Regions from separate parts of the Homo sapiens genome. Here region 1 is linked to region 2. Evidence: promoter capture Hi-C in human tissues and cell types (Jung and others, 2019). All regions are on one chromosome and are shown on one strand. The core of a region is centred on a gene start or on the middle of the fragment in contact, and the rest is flanking DNA. Distances in the headings are between cores, read along the strand shown. Region 1 has its middle 35 kb from the start of TRIM69. Region 2 holds the start of SPG11 (SPG11 vesicle trafficking associated, spatacsin).

What was found. Contacts are between HindIII fragments. The study calls those that stand out against the background at their distance.
Region 1: a contact is called between a fragment that was not itself captured here and the fragment with the promoter of SPG11 in region 2, in 4 of the 25 tissues and cell types used here (dorsolateral prefrontal cortex, lymphoblastoid cells, small bowel and 1 more).

Annotation. Positions count from the first base shown.
Region 1 is chr15:44,769,055-44,773,194 of GRCh38, forward strand. No RefSeq gene overlaps it. Among named protein-coding and RNA genes, the nearest start is that of TRIM69, 35 kb to the left of the region's middle. The HindIII fragment of the contact is 5,211 bases long and covers 1-3,992 here.
Region 2 is chr15:44,661,132-44,665,484 of GRCh38, forward strand. SPG11 (SPG11 vesicle trafficking associated, spatacsin) reads right to left here and starts at 2,531. Exons shown (of 40, transcript NM_025137.4): 1 at 2,260-2,531. The coding sequence starts at 2,516. RefSeq lists enhancers at 1,626-1,765, 1,875-2,831, 2,306-2,785, 2,826-2,995. The HindIII fragment of the contact is 12,399 bases long and covers 1-4,353 here.

The DNA.
Region 1 (4,140 bases), core at 137-2,636, 110 kb after region 2:
ATTATAATTAGCACAGTTTTTTTTTGGGGGGGGTCAGGGCAAAAGCTTAAATGTATGTATGGGAAAAATAATGCAAATACTACAGACAATATTCATGTAGTTTGTTATATACAATATGCATACATTTACAACTGATTTGGATAAACAGCCATAACAGGATTAAGACTACATTTAAGAAACTGCCTTGTTTTTTTTGAATTCACTTCAATCAGAACGTAGTAAGAACATATTTTGTGCCTGGAATCTTGCTTAATGTCTTAAAGGGTATAAAAGCAGCATAAAAAGAAAAAGAAAGGCATGCCAATAGAAAGTAATCTGACTAAAAATTAATTCACTTCTAAGGTATAAAAAGTTACAGCTGAAATATATTATTTTTTAAGACAAAGTCTTACTCTGTCACCCAGGCTGGAGTACAGTGGCACAAACACGGCTCTTTGCAGCCTGGGACTCTTGGATCCTCCCACCTCAGACTCTCGAGTAGCTAGGATTATAGGCGCAGGCAACTACGCCCAACTAAATTTTTATTTTTAGTAGAGACGAGGTCTCACTATGTTACCCAGGCTTGAAATATGTTATTCTTAAGATGCAATGGTTCTTAACCCTGGATACACATTAGGTTCATGTAGGAAGCTTTAAAAAAATTTAGATGCCTGGAATCCAGCCAAGACCAATTAAGGAAAGATCTCTATCAAGTGAAACCCTGCTAGAGTCCCAGTGTACAGTAGCTACAAGCCACTAGTTTCTAAAAGCTCTCAGGCGATTCTAATGTGTGGCTGGGGCAGACAGCCACTGAACTAAAGCAACATGTTTTATTTATTTTTACTTTAAAAATTTTTTTCCACAAGTTATTGGGGTATAGGTGGTATTTGGTTACATGAGTAAGTTCTCTAGTGGTGATTTGTGAGATTTTGGTGCACCCATCACCTGAGCAGTGTACACTGCATCATATTTGTAGTCTTTTATCCCTTGCCCCCCTCCCACTCTTCAAGTCCCCAAAGTCCATTGTATCATTCTTATGCCTTCACATCCTCACAGCTTAGCTCCCATATATCAGTGAGGACATACAATGTTTGGTTTTCCATTCCATGAGTTACTTCACTTAGAATAATAGTCTCCAATCTCATTGAGGTCACAGCAAATGCCGTTAATTCATTCCTTTTTATGGCTGAGTAGTATTTCAGCATATAAATATACCACAGTTTTCTTTATCCACTTGTTGATTGATGGGCATTTAGGTTGGTTCCATGATTTTGCAATTGTGAATTGTACTGCTATAAACATGCATGTGAAAGTATCTTTTGCATATAATGACTTCTTTTCCTCTGGGTAGATACCCAGTAGTAGGATTGCTCGATCAAATGGTAGTTCTACTGTTGCGGGAAGTCAGGGATCCCAAACAGAGGGACCGGCTGGAGCCACGGCAGAGAAAACATAAATTGTGAAGATTTCATGGACATTTATCACTTCCCTAATAATACTCTTATAATTTCTTGTGCCTGTCTTAATCTCTTAATCCTGTTATATTCATAAGCTGAGGATGTACGTCACCTCAGGACCCTGTGATGATTGTGTTAACTGTACAAATTGATTGTAAAACGTGTGTTTGAAGAATATGAAATCAGTGCACCTTGAAAATGAACAGAATAATAGCGATTTTAGGGAACAAGGGAAGACAACCATAAGGTCTGACTGCCTGTGGGGTCAGGCAAAAAGAGCCATATTTTTCTTCTTGCAGAGAGCCTATAAATGGACGTGAAAGTAGGAGAGATATCGCTAAATTCTTTTCCTTGCAAGGAATATAATATTAAGACCCTAGGAAAAGAATTGCATTCCTGGGGGAGGTCTATAAACAGCCGCTCTGGGAGTGTCTGTCCTATGCTGTTGAGATAAGGACTGAGATACGCCCTGGTCTCCTGCAGTACCCTCAGGCTTACTAGGATTGGGAAACCCCAGCCCTGGTAAATTTGAGGTCAGACTGGTTCTCTGCTCTTGAACCCTGTTTTCTGCTAAGATGTTTATCCAGACAATACGTGCACTGCTGAACATAGACCCTTATCAGGAGTTCTGATTTTGCCCTAGTCCTGTTTCCTCAGAAGCATGTGATCTTTGTTCTCCTTTTTGCCCCTTGAAGCATGTGATCTTTGTGACCTACTCCCTGTTCATACACCCCCTCCCCTTTTGAAATCCCTAATAAAAACTTGCTGGTTTTGCGGCTCAGGTGGGCATCACAGACCTACTGATATGTGATGTCACCCCTGGCGGCCTAGCTGTAAAATTCCTGTCTTTGTACTCTTTCTCTTTGTTTCTCAGACTGGCTGACACTTAGGGAAAACAGAAAGAACCTACACCCCCGATATTCTACTTTTAGTTCTTTAAGGAATCTCCATACTGTTTCCCATAGTGGCTGTACTAGTTTACTTTCCCACCGGCAGTGTAGAAGTGTTCCCTGTTCATTGCATCCATGCCAACATCTACAGTTTTTTTTATTGTTTTGATTATGGCCATTCTTGCAGGAGTAAAGTGGTATTGCATTCTGGTTTTGATTTGCATTTCCCTGACCATTAATGATGCTGAGTATTTTTTTCATATGTTTGTTGGCAGTTTGTATATCTTCGTTTGAGAATTGTCTATTCATGTCCTCAGCCCACTTTTTGATGGGATTGTTTGTTTTTTTCTTACTGATTTGTTTCAGTTTGTTGTAGATTCTGGATATTAGTCCTTTGTCAGATGTATAGATTGTGAAGATTTTCTCCCACTCTATGGGTTGTCTGTTTACTCTGTCGACTGTTCCTTTTGCTGTGCAAAAGCTCTTTAGTTTAATTAAGTCCCAATTATTTATCTTTGCTTTGATTGCATTTGGTTTTGGGTTATTGGTCATGAAATCCTTGCCTAAGCCAATGTCTAGAAGGGTTTTTCCAATGTTATCTTCTAGAATTTTTATAGTTTCAGGTCTTAGATTTAAGTCCTTAATCTATCTTGGTTGATTTTTGTATAAGGTGAGAGATGAGGATCCAGATTCATTCTCCTACATGTGGCTAGCCAATTATCCCAGCACCATTTGTTGAAAAGGGTGTCCTTTCCCCACTTTATGTTTTTGTTTGTTTTGTTGAAGATCAGTTGGCTGTAAGTATTTGGGTTTATTTCCGGTTTCTCCATTCTGTTCCATTGGCCTATGAGTTTTTTTTTTTTTTTTTTTTGAAATACAGAGTCTCGCTTTGTCTTCCAGGCTGGAGTGCAGTGGCACGATATTGGCTCACTGCAAGCTCTGCCTTCCAGGCTCATGCCATTCTCCTGCCTCAGCCTCCTGAGTAGCTGGGACTACAGGCACCCGCCACCATGCCCAGCTAATTTTTTATTTTTTTTTTTAGTAGAGACGAGGTTTCACCGTGTTAGCCAGGATGGTCTTGATCTCCCGACCTTGTGATCCACCTGCCTTGGCCTCCCAAAGTGCTAAGATTACAGGCGTGAGCCACCATGCCCGGCCCTATGTGCCTATTTTTATACCAGTACCATGCTGTTTTGGTGACTATGGCCTCATAGTATAGTTTGAAATCAGGTAGTGTGATGCCTCCAGATTTGTTCTTTTTGCTTAGTCTTGCTTTGGCTATGTGGGCTCTTTTTTGGTTCCATATGAATTTTAGAATTGTTTTTTCTAATTCTGTGAAGAATAATAGTGGTATTTTGATGGGGATTGTACTGAATTTGTAGATTGCTTTTGGCAGTGTGGTCATTTTCACAATATTGATTCTACGCATCCATGAGCATGGGATGTTTTTCCGTTTGTGTCATCTATGTTTTTTTCAGCAGTGTTTTATAGTTTTCCTTGTAGAGGTCTTTCGCCTCCTTAGTTAGGTATATTTCTAAGTTTTTTTTTTTTTTCTGTAGCTATTGTAAAAGAGGTTGAGTTCTTAATTTGATTCTCCTCTTGGTCGCTGTTGGTGTATAGAAGAGCTACTGATTTGGGTACATTAATCTTGTATCCAGAAACTTTGCTGAATTCTTTTATCAGTTCTAGGAGCTTTCTGGAGGAGTCCGTAGGGTTTCCAAGGTAAATGATCAAATCGCCAGCAAACAGTGACAGTTTGACGTCCTCTTTACTGATTTGGATGCGCTTTCTTTCTTTCTCTCGTCTGATTGCTC
Region 2 (4,353 bases), core at 1,281-3,780:
ACAGTAGTCAATAGCCACATGCAGCTACTGAACACTTGAAATGTGGGGCAACTGAGGAACCAAATTTTTTACTTTAACAGCCACATGTAGCTAATGACTACCATTACTAAACGGTAGAGTTACGGAATTCTTAAACTGAAATGTCAAAATAACAACACTGGCAAGACTGATGGTGTTTCAGCTTCAAATTAAATATTAAAACTAAATTACACATTACAAATAAAAGCCCCAGATTTGAAAATAACACAATGAAAGAGGTGAGGCTATACCATGCTGATAAAATTTCATCTTTTAAGAAACTTGCTTCTACAGAAGTAGTGTTTTATACTTCTAGAGTAGTATATAAAACTACTGTGGTACATACATGATTTAATTCAATTAGTAATAAAACTAATAAGAGTACATAATAGTATTATGTACTATTATGTATTTTATACTACTATAGTAGTTTTATACTATTATAGTATTAATATGTCCTTATTAGGTAAAAAAAAGACATTTTTCTGACTGTTCATATTGATAAATGTAGAAAATAACCTAAATGTCAAATATACAAAAGGTTAAACTAAGATATACTTAAAAGGTAGAGTACATCATTAGCATAGGGACAATATTGCCACATGGAAAGACAGGAAATTTTCAATGCAATAAACAAGATATATGATGTAATTTCAACAATATTAAAAAGACCTATGTACTTTGAAAAAGTAGGAAGTAAACTCTAAATACTATAAACATGCCCTTATTTTTAACCTATGAAGTATTTTAACTGAATTAAAATTCAATTCAACTAAAAAAGTTAAAAAGTCCTTTCTTGGTCCTCCTCCCCTCTAATTTCATGAACTAGCATATGAACGCCCCCTTTATTTCATCTCGGTCTTACCTTCCCTGCTGGGTTCTCAAACACCTAAAGATTTCGGCTTTTCTTTGCCCCATTCCTCTCTTTACAGAGCCACATTCATAGGTACTTGATACTGCTAAATAAACTAATTTCCCCTAAACTAGTTTATAAATAACTTAGTTTATAATAAGTTTATAAACTAAACGCAGAGATTCCTCTTTCGAGCAACTAGACATCAAGGGTAGAGAAGACAAACCCAGAAGAGTTAAGCATTCACTGATGTATCAAATGAATCTCTAAATGTCAGGAGCTGTTAGAGGAGCTGGAGATTCCAAGATTAATAAGACACCTTTTGGCTACTCATCTTAAAGAAAGAGTTGTGAAAATACTTACTATTAATAATTATTAAAAGAACAGGTCAGGCTCAGTGGCTCACACCTGTAATCCCAACACTTTGGCAGGGAGAGGCGGGATCACTTGAGCCCAGGAGCTTGAGACTAGCCTAGGCAACACAGTGAGACCTCATCTCTACAAAAACTAGAAAAATTAGCCAGGCCTGGTGGTGCACGCCTGTAGTCGTAGCTGCTGGGGAGGCTGAGCCCGGGAGGTCAAGGCTGGCTGCCGTGAACCGTGACTGAGCCACTACACTCCAGCCTGGGCGACAGCGACCTTATCTTTAAAAAAAAAAAAAAAAAAAAAAAAGCAGCAGCCCACTCAAAACACTAAGAGGGCGTTCCCAAACTTTATGATGTAAACTCTTAAGTACTGAACCAAGAGTTACGGAAGTACAAAGTAATGCATTATTGTAATCATGTTTGTCTTCCCCAAACATGCGCGCCTCGCAAGAAAGAAGTGTCTTACTCAACTTTTTAGGCACTGCTCCTATGTAACAGCAAGCACACAATATTTGCTGAATAAATGAAGGGACAAACTGGACTCTGTCCTTGAAGAAGAGGACTACATGTGAAAGAAAACGCTATTCACTTCAAGGACATGAAAAAAGTATCAGGATGATTCAAATTAGAGATGATCCTCAGCTGGCATCTTTAACTGAAAGAAATGGGCATGGGACTCGACCCTGTGACAGTTAATCAACCTGTGTTGAATAATGAAAGAATCAGCGCCTCAGCTGAGACCCGTTCCGGGTTCGCCGCAGGTGGCAATGGAGCTGGGTGCCGTCTCCGCCCACCCGGAACAGGAGAGCTGGGCTGCCAGAATGCAACGAGGCGAGCGTTTCAGGTCGGGGGAAAGGTTCTGTGAGGAAACCACGCTCGCCTCTGGGGCGTTTCCTGCAGCTGGCACCCTTCTCCCGCCACCTCTATGGCTGCAGGGAGGCCTCGGCGTGAGCCCTTGGGGCTCAGTCAGCCGAGCCTAGGCTCTGGACTCCCCCAACGGCCCAACTCTCCCTCAGCACTTACTGCCAGAAGGGGCCCTCCAGGCAGCAGCGACCCCCGCCCCGGCTGCCAGGCGTCAAAGAAAGCACTTGGAGGCTGCCCGCAGCCGTCAGGCTCCCCAGAGCCTCCGGCTGTGTGCGCAGCTGCGCCCGGGAGCCGAGCTGCCCCATCGCCTCGGCGGGGACTGGCACCAACAGCATCGGTAGAACCCGCCCCATGGCCGCGGTGCCCCAGCTACCGCCGGCGGAAGCAGCACTCGCGACCCCTTCCTCTGCAGCCATCTTGGCCCGGCGGTTACTTCCGGTCACTTTCGCCGGAACCTGACTGCGTCGTGGGCATGCGCGGTGTACGTAGCGGCTCCCGCTCGGCCTCGTGACTCCCGCGGAGACCTCTCGGCTGTCTCCGGTCGATTCCATTCGTTTCCTGTGGGGGGCAGTACCAGCCTCTCTAGCAAAGCCACATCTGCCCTGACGCCAGTCCCACTCTGCTTAACTGCTCTGGCATGCTTGAAGGCCTAGCTTAGCGTAGCAGGCCGTTGCAGCCGTTCTCGCTCTGTGGCATTGCTCTTTGCCTTCTTGGTCCAGCTGCCTCCAGCTCCCTTGGAACCCAGTTCCTGCCTCTTTTCTTCGCTTTTCTTATTGTGCTGTTCGCTTACAGGCTCTGGGGTGGTGCCATTTCCTTGGTAGCATGGACCGTCTTACAGTGTGGATCCATAGTAAGGGTGTTGACCCGAAATTTGAAGTCAAATAATATCCATTGTAACAGTCAGAGAGACGGGGTAAGTAAGGGGTGGAGATGGTAGAGAGCTCCTGTCTGTTTTCTCAGGGAAGTATGATCCAAGATCAAGAGAAGGAGAGGAGCAAAGAGTTTGAGGTGAGAAGAGGGGTTGAATAGGTATTTTGGTAAAGTCTCCTAAAAGACAACTGTACCTTCTTAACACATCTTCCACATTCAGAACATTTCAGCATAAATGTAACCTCTATTGACAGGCCTCCCCAAGCCATTCAACCTAAGGTCCCTTCTACTGCAGTCTCTCACCTAGTTTTGTTTTTAATCATAGTATTTATCACTACTTGATATTTTCTGCCAGTTCCTGTCCAATAAGAATGTAAACTTCAAAAGAGCAAGGACTTTGTTGCTCACCACTGTCCTGGCTAGTACCTAAAACAGTGCATGTTTCATGAAAGGTACTCCCGCATTTGTTGATCAATGCATGACCTTATTTGTCAAAATAAAAGCAAACTTTTTTTTTCTTTTGAGATGGAGTCTCGCTTTGTCACTCAGGCTGGAGTGCAGTGGCGGGATCTCGGCTCACTGCAACCTCCGCCTCCTGGGCTCAAGCAATTCTGCCTCAGCCTTCCCAGTAGCTGGGATTACAGGCGCACGCCACACCCAGCTAAATTTTTGTATTTTAGTAGAGACGGGGTTTCACCATGTTGGCCAGGCTGGTTTCGAATTCCTGACCTCCGGTGATTTACCTGTCCCAGCCTGGAAGTGCTAAGATTACAGACGTGAGCCACCGTGCCCAGCTGAAACCAAACGTTTTCTATCACAAGGGAGATATATTCAACCTTCTAAGCTTAGCTGGGGCTGTGTTCTTTCTGTAAAAAATGGCAACGTTAAAGCAATTTCTAAGGTTACACTTGTGTTAGCTACAACAAAGCCTTGTCCCTTATAATCAGGACAGTCTTCTCATGCCTGTAAATCCCAGCACTTTGGGAGGCCAAGTTGGGAGGATCACTGGAGCCCACCCTTGCCAACATAGGGAGACCCTTGTCTCTACAAAAAAAATCAAAAAAAATTTTTTTTGAGAGTTTTGCTCTTGTTGTCCAGGCTGGAGTGCAATGGCACAGTCTTGGCTCACTGCAACCTCTAACCTCTGCCTCCTGGGTTCAAGCGATTCCCCTGCCTCAGCCTCCGAGTAGCTGGGATTACAGGCGTGTGCCACCATGCCTGGCTGATTTTGTATTTTTAGTAGAGACGCGGTTTCTTCACGTTGGTCAGGCTGTTCTCAAACTCCCGACCCTCAGGTGATCTGCCCACCTCGGCCTCCCAGAGTGCTGGGATTACAGGCATGAGCCACTGCACCTGGCCAAAAAAAATTTTTTTTTAATATTA